Regions from separate parts of the Homo sapiens genome. Here region 2 is linked to region 1. The links are contacts of gene promoters, found by promoter capture Hi-C in human tissues and cell types (Jung and others, 2019). All regions are on one chromosome and are shown on one strand. The core of a region is centred on a gene start or on the middle of the fragment in contact, and the rest is flanking DNA. Distances in the headings are between cores, read along the strand shown.

What was found. Contacts are between HindIII fragments. The study calls those that stand out against the background at their distance.
Region 2: a contact is called between a fragment that was not itself captured here and the fragment with the promoter of DDB1 in region 1, in 1 of the 25 tissues and cell types used here (aorta).

The regions. Positions count from the first base shown.
Region 1 is chr11:61,328,208-61,336,124 of GRCh38, forward strand. It overlaps DDB1 (damage specific DNA binding protein 1), which reads right to left and starts at 4,898. Exons shown (of 27, transcript NM_001923.5): 1 at 4,701-4,898; 2 at 3,336-3,484; 3 at 1,751-1,867; 4 at 1,156-1,377. The coding sequence starts at 4,761. It overlaps TKFC (triokinase and FMN cyclase), which reads left to right and starts at 5,021. Exons shown (of 18, transcript NM_015533.4): 1 at 5,021-5,122; 2 at 6,413-6,524. The coding sequence starts at 6,522. RefSeq lists enhancers at 4,460-4,982, 4,983-5,505 and a silencer at 4,901-5,160. The HindIII fragment of the contact is 10,331 bases long and covers 3,535-7,917 here.
Region 2 is chr11:61,620,943-61,628,859 of GRCh38, forward strand. It overlaps the pseudogene RPLP0P2. Among named protein-coding and RNA genes, the nearest start is that of SYT7, 44 kb to the left of the region's middle. RefSeq lists enhancers at 5,222-5,784, 5,785-6,345, 7,701-7,917 and a silencer at 7,215-7,509. The HindIII fragment of the contact is 8,232 bases long and covers 1-7,545 here.

The DNA of each region.
Region 1 (7,917 bases), core at 3,648-6,147:
ACAAAATCTCCTGGTTTCAACCTTATTCAATTGGGTCTTATTCCAATAGCTTCAGAACTACAGTAACACTAAGAAATATACAAAAATATATCAGCACCTCCAACATATAACAAGGCTATCAAACTGTTTATGTGCCAACACACTCTATGTGGAACTGGACTATCATTTCCTTCCATCACTTATTCAGCCACATGCAAATGAAATGATCTTATGCTGCATGGCCCTTTGTTAAAGGGCTGAGATTTTACCAAGATACTGGCATGTTAGTCTGGTGCTCTACCACCCCACCCCCGCTTAACAGATCTGGACCAGAGAACAGCTGCCCAGGATCAGCTCTGCTACAGTTTTAGGCAGACTAAAATAGAAGTTAAGAGCCAGCAAGTTGCCGAGCACGGTGGCTCACGTCTGAAATCTCAGCACTTTGGGAGGCCGAGGCAGGCGGATCATGAGGTCATGAGTTTGAGACGATTCTGGCCAACATGGTGAAACCACGTCTCTACTAAAAATACAAAAATTAGCTGGGCGTGGTGGCATGCACCTGTAATTCCAGCTACTCAGGAGGCTGAGGCAGGAGAATCGCTTGAACCAGGAGGCGGAGGTTGCAGTGAGCCAAGATCAGGCCATCGCACTCCGGCCTGGGCAACAGAGTGAGACTCTGTCTCAAAAAAAATAATAAAATAAAATTAAAATAAGCCAGCAAGTCACCAGTAAGTGATTACTGGACAAAATGTAAACCTCTTCTTAAAAAACACATATAAGGCATCACCAAGACAATTTCTCTTTGCTTAATATAAAGGCAAGATCTAGATAATTTCTTGACAACTAAGTTTTAATAATCCCCTAGCACTCCAGTAAGAGAATCAAAGTATAAACTGGGTCATCCTATGAAATCTCCCAAGGCCCACAACCAGAGTGTAATCTCAGGATTAAAACCTGCTACAAGCCCCAGAGAGCTTGCTGCCTCCACAATAAGTACTACTGCACTCAAGAAGCAACGAAAGTCTGACCCATATTAATTGTGTTGTTCAAAACATTTCAGGACAAACACATTAAACACTTCTCTCTATCCTACCAAACCCAGACATGCCAGTTAGCAAAAACAACTCCTATCACATCAACCTCACAGTTTCTCGCTCTCTCTTCCTGATCCAGTACCTGGTAGACAAAGCAAATAGTAGGTGCTTGGCAACCATATAGGAACTTGACATCAATGACATGCAGCTCCTCCAGGCGGATGTTGAAGGCCTTGAGTTCTTTATTATCGCGATCTAGTGGAATAACCTTGAAAAGGCCATCATAGAGACGCAGGCCAATCATCCGGCACTCAGGGTCAATGATGCCAATAATGCCGGTCTCTGAGGGGCGGCCAATGCGGTCCTGAGAAACAAAATCGGGATTAGGGAAGAACCTCAACATCCACAGAGCAACAGAGGACGCTGGGCACCACTTGTGCAGAAAAATTTTAGGAGAGGTATTAAAACTAATGGATCTATTTGATAGGCCAAATAGTTGGAGCCCCAATGTCAGTGCATGCCTTTTTCATGAAACACTGAATCTCAATGAATTATTACCCTGTCCCTTGGGTCTTGAGTGAACTACAGGAGTCCTTTCTCCAAAAAGCTCAAACCCATAGTGTCTTCTCCTTATTTCTCTGATCGAATAGAGAGCTGCCCCCAGCACTTTAATTTTTTCCATGAATCATGACAGCCCTACTTAGAAAACTTTCATTGGCCTAAAGCAGCCACCTCACCTGGACATTGCCATGGGCTCGCGTAATGATGTCAATGCTCTCGCCACTCTGTTTATACTCCAGGATGCAGGCATTGTACTTCGCTGTCAAGATAAACAGCAGGTCCTTGCTCTCCCCCTGGAAACCAATATTATGCTATCAAAAGAGGTTCTTTTTAAAACAGGAACAACCTGTCCAGTCTTTAAGCACACCAAATTCTTTAAGAATTTTCCAAATTCTTCTCTCCCTAAAGAGAAAATACATGGTGAGCTTGTAACCCACACTAGGTACACATACACCCTAAGGGCATGTACAAAAAGCCAGAACTGAAGCTGGTAAACATCTAGTTCTCACTTTCATGATTCTCCATCTCTCTGTTCTACAAACAAAGTCTTCATCTATTTCAATCTCAAGCTAATCTCAATCATCCCATTCAAATTCTGAAAGATGAATGTAATGCCTCCTCCACTCCTCCCCAAGTATTTGAAGAAAGAGGAAAAAAAATGTGGGAATAACAACGGAAGCTAAAATGGATCAACAAAGTCCTACTTATTTAACACAGACTCCAAAAAATTGCTGTTTTGTTCAAAGGGTTATAATTAAAATTTTGAACCCACTGCTTTCTTGCCAGATTCAGTTAAGACAACATAAAGCAATGTGGTGGTGATTTGGATGAAAACATTTGCGCTAAAATAATGAAAATACTGATGGTAATTGTTTTTTTTGTTTGGTGTTTTTTTTTTTGGAGATGGAGTCTCGCTCTGTCACCGGGCAATGGGCGCCATCTCCACTCACTGCAACCTCCGCCTCCTGAGTTCAAGCAATTCTTGTGCCTCAGCCTGCCAAGTAGCTGGGATTACAGGCACGTGCCACCACACCCGGCTAACTTTTGTATTTTTAGTAGAGATGGGGTTTCACCATGTTGGCCAGGCTGGTCTCGAACTCCTGACCTCACGTGATCCACCCACCTCGGCCTCCCAAAGTGCTGGGGTTACAGGCGTGAGCCACCATGCCCGGCCTGGTAATTGTTAACATAACTGTAAATGCTTGCTATATGATAGGCCCTATGTTACTGAATCATTTCATCGTCACAACAACCCAGGGGATTTGATCTGAAAGGTGCCTTAAGTGGCACCTAAAGTCAGAATTAACAAGAAATGAAGCCAGGACTGCCCCACTCTGTAGCCTATCCTCTGAAACAAACTGCTTTAATTTCTCCCTTCTAAAGAAGTCAACTTCATAAATGTTTCCCTAATGAATCTCTCCTTTTACTTCTAGAAAGCTTGGTCAAGAGTACATACTGAAATTTGCTATCCAAAGAGAGAAAAAAGAGAAGAGTTTTTCTCCTAAAGCATATTCCACCCATCCCAAGAATTCGCAAAACAACCTAACACAGCCCAAGCACGGTGGCATGCCTACAATACCCCAGCTACTCTACTCCAGAGGCTAAAGTGGAGGGATTGCTTGAGCTCAGGAGTTCAAGACATCCTGGGCAACACTGTGAGACCCCCGTCTCAAAGAAAATAAATAAACAAACAAAAATAACATAAAACAACCTACGACCAACAGTTCCCCCTCCACTGCTTGTCCCAACTGCAACACTTACCTTGGGCCTGAAAAGCTCCATGACCGCAATCTTCCCATACATGCCCACCTCTTTGACGGGCCGAAGCCCCTCGGCGGTGACCACATAGATCTCTAATCTCGTGTTTTTGGCAATCAACAGGTTTAAGTCTTCGGCCGAAGTAAAGTGTCCTGAAAGAACAGACCCTCTAACTTTTGAACTCAGGGGAAGGGCCTCCCATCCCTTCAAAATAATCCTATCACTTATGTCTAAATACCTCCAGAATTCTCATTTACTTCACATACTTCTCCAACTCCCTCCAGCTACTCCCCTTCTTGCCAAATCCGGCACCTCAAAGAGTCTCAGTTCATGCATTCAACAAAGCTACTTCCCTAATCAGACTAAGAAAACTGGACTGGACCTAAGAGCCGTGTGTCCTCCAAATGACAATGACTGCGTAATCCCTTCTCATGCCTCTTGCCCCTCCAATTTTACTCTATTACAGTTACAGTGGCAGGCTCTAATTGAGAATGCCGGAGAAAGTGTTCACTTCTTCCAGTCTTCATCTAAAGTCTCACAAAACTTTTATCTGACAGACCAAGTCAAATGAAGAAGTCCCAGAGCTTTATATGAAAACACTGTTTTGTCCACACCCCCTGCCCTCCTGGCAGTCTACCAATACCTCCATCCACACTCAGCTACCTCCAACTCTGAACAACAGTTTTGTTTTGGAATCATGATTAGGGTGTATATAAACATGCAAGCTTGGGGTCTGCATATTCAGCTGAGAATGTGGGTTAAGATGACTCTTCCCGGGTTCTGAACATCGGTGTCCTTAACAATCCAAGCGCATCGTCAACAAGGCAAACCCAGCACTGGGCCAGGCAAACCAAACCCTCTTCTCCAGCAGGGCCCTCATGTAAACAACAGCCCCAGGCAAAGGGGTTAGCCTGAAGAGGGCTCCTCTCCCTCTGTGGGATAATGCGGGCATTCCTCACATCCCTCCACCTCCTGGGCCCCCCAGACTTCCCCACAGGAAAATCTTGACCCCAAAGTCGTCATTACCACCTCCCCTTTTCCTGGCCACAGAAAGCCAATCTCCGGGCCCAAACGACACCGCACAACCAACTCACACTCCTCTGTCTCACTGGGCCCGCCCTGTTCTCGAGGCCGAATGACCTCCCCAGGACGAAAGGGGACCCTCGAGAGCGGCTTCCAACCCCCAAAAAGCGCGTACAGGGACGACTCTTTCGAGGTCGCGGTGCTGGGGGAGGTTCCTCGGCCGCCAGCGCCTTCCATTCGCCGGGCCCACTCCTGCCCGGCCGCCCCCGGGGCGGCGGGCCTCCCTAGGCCGCGGCTCCCCCCAACTCCCTCACTCGCCGGGGTCTCCGGCCCCGGCAGCCTCACCGGTCACGCAGCCGTTCACGGCGGTGGGCTTCTGGGCCGTTACCACGTAGTTGTACGACATGTCGAGGCTTGGAGCGGCCCGTCGGGACTCGAGCGCGACACTAGAAAGAGGGACACAAGCGAAAAGACAGGTGGCCCCCAACAGCGCGCAGCGAACTCCACTGCCGCTGCCTCCGCCCCAGAGACACGTTGCAGGCCAGAGCGGCCGGGGCGCGGGGCATCACGGGACGGCCTCACCTGGCCTCTTGGAGGACTCCCGAAGCCCGAGGCCGCCAACCGAAGGAGGCCCCGCCCCCGGAGGCACCGCCTCGCCTCTTTCCGCCAGCGCCCGCAGGACCCGGATGAGAGCGCACGCTTCGGGGTCTCCGGGAAGTCGCGGCGCCTTCGGATGTGGCGGATGCGGCCGTGAGCCGGCGGGGGAGGTGCGCCAGTGTCCTCCGAGCTCGCCCGCAGACTCCCCACCCCGTTCCGCGCCCTTTGCCCTTCCCCGCATCCAGTCCTCCTTCCGTTGCTCCAGGAGCCCTCGGGCTGTTCCTCCTTTGGGAACGGGAAGGACTGCGGAGGCATAGAGAGGGAAGGGAGACCGCGATTCGTGCATATCCCAGACTAGAACCTTGCCTGCTTTCCTTTCACTGTCTCAGTTCCTCCAGATCCAGCTGGTGCCCTCGCCTGACGTTTGAACGACCACCTGCTCACCTCCTCCCTTTTGCGCGTTGATTCTTCAGACTTCAAAGGGCCCACCGGTCTGCTTGCCCAACGTTATTAGTGCCCCTATTGCTCTACAAATTCGAACCTCAAACACAAAACCAGTATTTCTCCGTAGGGAACCTTAATGAGCCAGGAGAGCCGTCAGCCCTGCAGCCTCCAGGGTACCCCACATCAAACAGGCTCCCCGGGAACAAGAGGAATACCACGTGGCTTGGCACACTCGCAGAATGCCAGAGAGGAGCCAACCCCCATTTTACAGATGAGGAAGCTGAGGCTTAGGGAGGAATTGGTTTACCTAAGACCCTCCCCACAACCCCAAGTAGGCTGAGGCAGAGCTATGTTGATTCTTCCTATTGTGCACCCACACAGAGGCCAACACGCTGCTGAACCAGGCTGAACTGAGGAAAAGCTAGAAAGTCATCGTGGTTTACATCTTGCCTTTCCCATAGCAGAGACTCTGCCTGACTTTGGAGGCACTGAATTATCAGTAGTAAAAACACACTCTGTAGAAAAACTAGACATTGGTTTAGATTCTGGCTGTTACCTGTATTACCTTGGACAAGTCCCTAGAGCTCTCTGAGTCTGTTTCCCAGAAGTAAAATGGGTCACAAACCTGGCTAGCTCCCCCCATTCCCTTCCCTTTTGGTGCCAAGGCCAGTGAGGGCAAGCGTGTGACGAGCTTTGTTAACTTTTTCGCTGCATGTGATGCCCGTGTAAAAGATAGTTATTCTGAGGATCACTGTCCTTTAGTGATGAAGTGGGTGCTGTTCCTGGACATAAAGGCAGACCTGTGCTTGACATGGATTGATCTGTCTTCTGGCAGTGAAGTGCAGGCATGAACCTTGGTCAGCCCCACACTCTTCTCCATCCGTAGCCCATGTACTAGAGTTTGGACTTGGACCGAAGTCTGGGGCAGCTCCCTAATTACTAGGGTGCTGAAGGCGTGATTGTGCCAGTCGACTGCGAGTTCCTTCCGCAGCTTGTATCGTTACCCACTCCTGCAGGTGCTGCTGCTGCCTCCACTGTACTCAGACCCAGGTAGCACAGGATTGTCCATCCTCCAGCAGCTCAGTGCAACGGTGTGAACTCAGCCTGTTTCAGAGCCTCCACACCATGGTGAGTCATACAGGGCCGGGACGGGAATGGCAGCATGGTCTCAAAGCAGGATCCCAGCCTTGGGCAAGCTAAAGCTCCTTACACTTTGACTGAGAGATGCTATTGCCTCCTGAGGCTCACGGGTGAAGAGAGAGGGTCATCCTCTCTCCCAGGGTCTGATCCCTGCTTTTCTTTGTTTCCTGGAGGCTGCTGGTCCCAGCCAGGCCTGGGGCTGCAGCCTCTTGAGTCCCTTCAGAGCCACTCTGCCCCTTATCTGGGTCTTGCATTCAGAGTAAAACAGTAACAGTTACCTGCTCTGTAATAGACATTGTACCGGTCACAGAAGGAATCGTGAAGAATGACCATGTGACCGTTCCTAACCTTGGGGCTTATGTGGGCCGGTCTGGAGCTGGGATCTACAGTGTGGGAGGCTGGCCATGTCCCTGGGCTTTGCTCCAGGCCCACTGATTTGAACCAAAACAAGCCTTGAACATATCTGGATTCAAATTTCAGCCTGCCACTGACCAGCTGCATGACCTTTTACAGACCTCTCTGCGCCTCTTTTTCTTCATCTGCATTATAAGGCAAATTAAGGCCTACCTCCAGTGGTTGTGTGGTGTTGATCAAGCAGAGTCCTGGAGGCCTCACTTGACTTCCTTTCCTTTTCCATCCTTTCAGGCCACTGAAACCAGGGATAGCACTGGTCCCTAAACCCTCTTCTGGCTCTGTAAAAGACAGATTATCATGATGGGGAGCAGGCCACTTTCTTGGAGGGTAGTGCTGCTGGAGGCTGGGCTTGGAGTGAGGCCAACTCACAACTTCATTGTGTGTTCCAGTCCCTGGTAGGCTCTGAGAGCCACAAACCCATGTCCTTTCTAGGGCAACCTCTGTCACCCTCCACTTCCCTCCAGCCCCTCGAGAAAGCAGCATGATATGGCCAAAAGGGAACCAGCTTTGGAGCCAGGCAGACCTGGACACCTGCTGGCTGTGTGACCTTGGGCAAAATAGTTTAACTGTGCCTCAGTTTCCTCACTGGGCTCATCTTTCCTCCATAGGGCTGTTGGGAAGTTTTGTTTTGTTTTAGTTTGGGTTTTTTTTTTTGAGACGGAGTTTTGCTCTTTTTGCCCAGGCTGGAGTGCAATGGCGCAATCTCGGCTCACCACAACCTCCGCCTCCCAGGTTCAAGCAATTCTCCTGCCTCAGCCTCCCGAGTAGCTGGAATTACAGGCATGTGCCACCACGCCCAGCTAATTTTGTATTTTTAGTAGAAATGGGGTTTCTCCATGTTGATCAGGCTAGTCTCGAACTCCCAACCTCAGGTGATCCACCCGCCTTGGCCTCCCAAAGTTCTGGGATTATAGGCATGAGCTACCACACCCGGCCTGTTGGGAAGATTAAATGAGACATGCTCAAA
Region 2 (7,917 bases), core at 2,180-4,679, 290 kb after region 1:
GCCCCTCTGCTTCGAGGGCTCTTCGGAGAGAGGAGCCTACGAGGAAGTTATGATGTGGCTTTACCACCCTCCCCCTCTTGGTCACACTGGAGTTCCAGGGCACAACCCCTTAGGGACACCAGCGGGGGTGGCCTGTGGCAGCCCCAACCTTCCCGCACCCAGCCCCTAGTCCACAGTGCCACCAATGCCAGGCTGTCATCAGGGCTCACCAGGCACACATGATCTCACTTAAACCTCCCAGGCAGGTGCTTGCGTCTTCCCATGCCACAAGTGAGGAAACAAAGAAACAGAGGGTTAAGGAACCTTCCAACAGTGCAGAGCTCAGATTCAGACTCAGGCAGTCTGGCCCCAAAGTCTGCACTCAAAACCACTACACTCCTCCACCTCCCTAAACAGGATGAGACCCTCTTCCCGGTGGGCTGGAGTGATTAGACAACTTTACAGGGGTGCGGAGTAATACTTCAAGGTGTGTGCTAGAGAGAGCATGTCTGGGGTGGCATTTCAGAAGTTAATTCCTCACTAGTTCTCTTCCCTGAGGGGGCTCACTGAGTTTGAGTTTATCTCTTGAAATACTGTAACAATCCAGGCACAGTGGCTCATGCCTGTAATCCCTGCACTTTGGGAGGCCAAGACAGGCGGATCACCTGAGGTTAGGAGTTCAAGACCAGCCTAGCCAACATGATGAAACCCTATCTCTACTAAAAATACAAAAAAATTAGCCAGATGTGGTGGTGGGCACCTGTAATCCCAGCTACCCGGGAGGCAGAGGCTGTAGTAAGCTGAGATTGTGCCACTGCACTCCAGCCTGGGCGACAGAGCGAGACTCCATCTCAAAAAAAAAAAAAAAAAAGAAATACTTTAACAATAATACTAACACTGATACTAATACTAACAGCTATCTTCTCTGAGCAGGTTTTATGCGCCACTCACCATCCTGAACTTTGACATGTGTTAATTCGTTTAATACTCATAACAGCCCTAGGAGGAAGGTATTATGAATTTTCTTGTTATCCAGATGAGGAAACTGAGGCTCAGAGAGGTCAAGTCACTGGGCAGCTCCCAGAGCTGGTGGTGGAGTCAAGATCAAACCCAGGCGGTTCTGGGTCCAATCATTCATTTGTCCCATGCTCTCTTAACCTCAAACTTGCCGCCTTTTCCTGCCTTGCCCGTGTGAATGTCCCCTCCCCCCAGGGTGTTGGAAAGTGAGTCCCACCAGGTATGGGGCAGGACCAGGAGGGACCTTACCAGCAACCGGGGTAAGGAGGAATGACCAAGGCATTCCAGCCCCAGCATGGGGGGGTAGGGTGTGGGCTTGGCCTTTGCAGTGTCAGGGATCTGGGCGGCCCCTCCTAGCTCACCTGCAGATCTCCCTCCGCAGGCAGGACTCCCATACCCTGGGAACACCACAAGCCGCTCCTGAAGGCAAACAGAAGACTCAGAGACAGAACAGCAGAGCCTGAGCCATAAGGTAGAGGGGAACATTTCCCAGCCACCTCCTGTTTTCAACACTGCTGGCCCTGGATCCAGTAAGTGGCATGACCATGCAGAGTGGTGCTTGGGCCCCTAACAACTGCTCCCTCAGTTCTGCACAGAGAAGGCTGTTCCCAGAAAGGGCTCCATTAAATCCTTAGCCAAGAGCCACATCTCCTCTGTTTCTGTCTCAGCCAAGGGGAGAGGGCACATGTTCAGTCCACTCCTAGGGTGCTGATCTTGTGGGGGCAGATGGTAGTGTCTTCAGTGAATGGCAGCTTCTTGTTCTTGTGTAGTTATCGTGGCCAAGATAAGACCACACAACCATGTGTTTTGGGAAAGGAGACAAAGAAGCGACCCAGGAATGCCAAAGGGGTCAAATAAAGTTTCTGGGGCTTCCGTGAGCCCATGGCTCTTGGGGCCCTGAGTCATGGGGTCCAGAAAACCAGGCCTGTCTGGATGGGGGGCCTGGCATGGGAATCACGTTCTCATAGGATGTTGCTTGTGATCTGCAACAAACACAGTGCATTTTCAAGCATCTTCCCGTATTGGGGCTGAGATAATGATATTCCAAAGTATGGTGCTGTGGCATGCTGAGTACTTTGAGCTAAAGGAGACTGGAAGGTCTCAGAAGCAGCCTCAGAAGCAGTATCTCTCTCTCTCTCTGACCTGTCCCCACTTTTCTCCCCCAAGGCAGCCATAGAAATGAGAATTCCTCTTCCGTAAGGTAGGTCATAGAAAGTAGAAATATTGGGAGCCGGATGTGGTGGCTCATGCCTGTAATCCCGGTACTTTGGGAAGCCGAGGCGGGTGGATGACGTGAGGTCAGGAGTTTGAGACCAGCCTGGCCACAGTGAAATCTGTGTCTACTAAAAATACAAAACTTAGCCAGATGTGGTGGCGTGTGCCTGTAGTCCCAGCTACTCAGGAGGCTGAAGCAGGAGAATCTCTTGAACCCAGGAGGCAGAGGTTGCAGTGAGCTGAGATCCAGCCTGACGTGAGGTCAGGAGTTTGAGACCAGCCTGGCTAACATGGTGAAGCTCCGTCTCTACTAAAAATACAAAAATTAGCCAGGCATGGTGGCGCACGCCTGCAGTCCCAGCTACTTGGGAGGCTGAGGTAGGAGAATCGCTTGAACCCAGGAGGTGAAGTTTGCAGTGAGCTGATATTGTGCCATTTCACTCCAGACTGGGTGACAGAGATTCTGTTTCAAGAAAAAAAAAAAAAGAAGAAGAAAAGAAAATAGAACTATTACTCTTACCTTCCCCTGCTTTTCTGTGTAGCAGCTGGCCATAAGGAAATTCTCTGACTCCACTTGGTCTGATAGTAGGCCGTAAGACCCTCGCTCCAGCGGGGTCCTGCTCCATACCCAGAAATAAGGAATATGGCAGACAGGCCAAGAAGAATGTACACACACAGGCCTCGCTGGGTTCCTTCCCTTGGCCTATTACCTTTAGGTCATACTCTTTTGTTCCAATCACTTTTTTTTTTTTTTTGAGACGGAGTCTCGCTCTGTCACCCAGGCTGGAGTGCAGTGGCGCAATCTCGGCTCACTGCAAGCTCCGCCTCCCGGGTTCACGCCATTCTCCTGCCTCAGCCTCTCCGAGTAGCTGGGACTACAGGTGCTCACCACCGCACCTAGCTAATTTTTTGTATTTTTAGTAGAGGTGGGGTTGCACCGTGGTCTCGATCCCCTGACCTCGTGATCCGTCTGCCTCGGCCTCCCAAAGTGCTGGGATTACAAGTGTGAGCCACCGCGCCCGGCCTCCAATCACTTTTTTCTTTAGATGGAGTTTCACTCTGTTGCCCAGGCTGGAGTGCAGTGGTGAGATCTCGGCTCACTACAACCTCCAACTCCTGGGTTCAAGTGATTTTTGTGCCTCAGCCTCTCAAATAGCTAGGATTACAGGTGCCCACCACCAAGTACAGATAATTTTTATATTTTTAGTAGAGATGGGGTTTGACCATGTTGGCCAGGCTGGTCTCGAACTCCTGATCTCAAGTAATCCACCCACCTTGGCCTCCCAAAGTGCTGGGATTACAGGTGTGAGCCACTGTGCCCAGCTGGTCCAATCACATTCCTATATGACTGTCCATTCTTCATCGAACCTTTGCATAAAAAGGTACTGTACAGTCTGGGTATTCATTTCTTTTCCTTTTTCTTTTTTTTGGTTTGTTTGTTTTGAGACACAGTCTTGCTCTGTTGCCCAGGCTGAATGAAGTGCAGTGGCATGATCTCAGCTCACTGCAACCTCCACCTCCTGAGTTCAAGCAATTCTAATGTCTCAAGCCTCTCGAGTAGCTGGAACTACAGGTGTGCACCACCATGCCCAGGTAATTTTTTGTATTTTTAGTAGAGACAGAGTTTCACCATGTTGGCCAGGCTGATCTTGAACTCCTGACCTCAAGTGATCCACCCACCTCGGCCTCGTAAAGTGTTGGGGTTATAGGCATGAGCCACCACGCCTGGCCTGGGTCTTCATTTCCAAAGGCCCCCATGTCATGTAAAACTTTGATTAAATACATTTGTTATGCTCTTCTCTTGTTAACTTCTCTCTGTCTTTTGGTATAGGAGTGTCAGCCGTGACCCTTATGATGGATGAGAAGAGGTATCATGCCTTTTCCACCCCTACACCTGGAAGGAAGGTTCTGCAGCAAGTTCATGAGAGACGATATGTGGAATGTAATCAGAGCATACCTCTTAATACTTAAAAGGTAAGGCCAGGCGCAGTGGCTCACGCCTGTAATCCGAGCACTTTGGGAGGCCGAGGTGGGCGGATCACGAGGTCAGGAAATTGACACCAGCCTGGCTAACATGGTGAAACCCTGTCTCTACTAAAAATACAAAAAATTAGCCGGGCGTGGTGGTGGGTGCCTGTAGTCCCAGCTGCTCAGGAGGCTGAGGCAGGAGAATCAGTTGAACCCAGGAGGCAGAGGTTGGAGAGAGCTGAGATCGTGCCACTGTACTCCAGCCTGGGCGACAGAGCAAGACTCCATCTCAAAAAAAAAAAAAAAAAAAAAAAGACGTATAAAATTCTGAGGTTCTTCTTTCGAGGCTAATTCCTTTCCTGTATGTGCTTAGGTTATGTTCATCTGAAGGAAAACTTAAGAAACTGTGTGGTAAACTATAATATAGAAGTTTATTTTTCTCTCGAGTAAACAATATTTGGAGGTTCTGGTCCAGGGCTGGTGTGGCAGCTCCACAAACATCAGAAACCCAGATCACTTCCTTCTTGTGGCTTGGTCATCCTTAACATGGGGCTTCTACCTCATGATCCAAGATAGCTGCTCCTGCTCGAGCAATCACATGCATATTCCTTTCCAGCAGAAAGGGAGAAGAGGTAACAGGGTGCAACCTGCTGCCTCTGAGTGGCACTTCTTCTTACAACTTATACACATGGCCATACCTGGCTGTAAGGGAGGCTGGGAAATGTAGCTTGTATTTCAGGGGGTTGTTTGCCCAGCAAAAATCAGGGGTTCCGTGGCAAAGAAGACAGAACAGATGTTGGGGAATAGTTATAGTCTCTGGCACACCATGGTATTCCTCCATTCCACGGGGAAAGATGGCCATGTACTTTCTGGTACTCTGCTCCAGGTGACCTTGTTCTTGTATGTTACATGTTCTTGTGTGTTACTCTTTTTTTTTTTGAGATGGGATCTTGCTCTGTTGCCCAGGCTGGAGTTCAGTGGCACAATCTCAGCTCACTGCAACCTCCGCCTCCCAGGTTCAAGCGATTCTTTTGCCTCAGCCTCCCGAGTAGCTGGGATTAGAGGTGTGCACCACCACGCCCAGCTAATTTTTGTATTTTTAGTAAAGACAGGGTTTCACCATGTTAGCCAGGCTGGTCTCGAACCCCTGACCTCAAGTGACCACCTGCCTCAACCTCCCCAAGTGCTGGGATTATAAGGCGTGAGCCATTGCACCCGGCCTTGTGTGTTACTCTTTTTTTTTTTTATTATACTTTAAGTTTTAGGGTACATGTGCACATTGTGCAGGTTAGTTACATATGTATACATGTGCCATGCTGGTGCGCTGCACCCACTAACTCGTCATCTAGCATTAGGTATATCTCCCGATGCTATCCCTCCCCCCTCCCCCCATTGTGTGTTACTCTTAACTCCTCACCACAAAACCAGAACGGCCCTGAGACCAAGACTCAGGTCTCCAGAACAAAGCCCTTAGCCTGACATTCAGGGCCCTTGGCCACTGGGTCTCAGGAACTGCCGCAGTCCCTTGCAGCCTGTGTCCAGCCTCTCAGAGCCACCTGCCTGCTCCATTCCTTGCTTCCCCAGACTGTTCCTTCTGCCTGAATGGCCCTCCTGGACCTCCAATGCCAGGGGCACTCCTATCCAACCTCGAAGAGATTGCTCTGTCAGTGCAGCCTTGCAGGGCCTCGCTGGGGGAGAATCAGAATTCCTTTCTCCTGCCCTCCCTTGGGCTTCCGGAGCCTTCCGTCATCCTCTATTTATAGTTCAAGTCAGGTGCCCCTGGACATGTTGCTGGGAGGGAAGGGCCTCAGCTGGGAGAGCCGGTTCTGTGACCTGCTGGGGAAGGGCTGGGATTTTCCAGGATGCCTCCTCTAGCCCTATAGTCCCCTTGGCTACCTCTGTCTACGGGGAAATGGAGCCCCCTACCTGGACAGCCTTAATCCGGTGCACCTGGTGGCTGCTTGTCTCCTTGGCTTTGCTGTGAGCCCTGGGGCCTGGGGATGGGCTTCTCTCCAGCCCTGGGCCTGCTCCTGCCTCTGCTGTGGTGAGGTGACCTGAGTAACGGGTTGGGTTAGGTGGTCTCTATGTTGGTAGGGGTCTCAGTAGGGTCAGGCTTGCTCTAGGAGAGAGTCACAGTTGCTAGAGTTGAGTATAGAGGGCAGGAACCAGCTGTAACTTTGCAAAGCTCTGTCCTGGGATGCTCGGCTTCCCTCCTGTTGTCCTCCACCTTCCAGAAAGCCCAGCAGGGAGAGATGAGCACTGTGTCCCCAAACTCAATGTCACTGTCACCTCCCCTCACCCAGCCCAGCCACTCCCCGTCAGCTCCAGACCAACTCGGAATACTCGGGAAGGTTGATCCTTCGACTTCCTCAAGCCATTGCTCAACATCCCCCAATCACAGCCTCCCCAACTCCCATCTCCAAAGGCCTCCTTCCTCCCCAGATCCCCGGCTGTCACCATCCTCATTCTTCTAACAAGCTGACAAACTTGAATTCTGAGCGAGCATGACCTGGGGTCTTGGGCCTGAGCCGCAGCCCTCTGCCTCCACCCCATCCCCCACTTACATGCCCACTTTCAGATACAGACACGGACCCTGATGCCAAGGACATCCACTGGCTGAATGCCTCCTCCTGCCCTTTCACGAGCTCCCATGCCTGGCCCTGACTACCTGCACGCAGCCCTGGACCCTCAAGTGACTGTAGGAACCCCCTCTACGAGACTCAGCCCTTTTGCCACCAGTGGGACTTGCAGGCCCAGCTGACCAGCACCTTCTTGCCTGCTGTGGGCCATGTGACCGACGGAATCCCACCACATCTGCCGTGAGCCTCGCCTGAATCAGGACCAAGTTTAGGTTTTCAGAATCAGACGGACGTGACTATGTGACCTGGGGCAAGTGACTAACCCTCTCTGAGCCTCTGACATTTATAGCTGACTCCAATCTGATACATGGGCTCCCCAGGGGCCTGAGGAGGGAAGGTTTGAAACCTCACTCTTCCCTCCCTTGCCCTTGGAAGGTGAGAGCAGGAGGCTCCTTCATGGAGGTGGCTAGGATGGGGAGGGAGGACCAGGAAGCTTCCTGACCTTGCCCCAGGAGCTGGCAGCCCCCAGTCCCACCTTGTCCAGAGATCACTCAGGGGAAACCACTCTGGCTGAGGGATTCAGGTGCTGGTGCCAACTAGGAGAAGCAGTCTAGGGCGCCTCCCAGTGGACACCAAGGGAACGTCTATTCTGGCTGGCCCTTGGTCCAGCCCTGTGATTTTAGCCCTTGGCATGCAGTCAGGCTCCAGTACTGACCCCAGCACCAGCAGTGGCAAATTGCACCTCATTTGAGGAATCTCAGTTTCCTCTTCCACAAAACGGAAATAATGATAACATCACCACACAAGACCACAGTGAGGCTTCCTTCGGACGACCCAGGCGACCCGCCTTCCACACTAATGTTTTCCAGGTCTAGAGAGGCCAGGGCTTGCCTGGGGACCACAGTGAGATGTGGTGAGGAGCCAGGGGTTCAGGCTCTCAGGCTCCTGGTCCACTGCTCTTTCCACTGCTGGGAGGTGCCTCAATGTAACCTTGGACTCTCCAGGCCTATTAACTCCTCCGTGTAGCTCTGGAAGTTTTCAGATGTTTTAGTGCTATTAACATGCCTGTCCCAGGAACAAGCTTACAAATGCATCCAATTAACCTTCTGCCAACAATTCTGGGACGTGATTTCTTTTCCAGCCTTTGCAGGGAGATCTC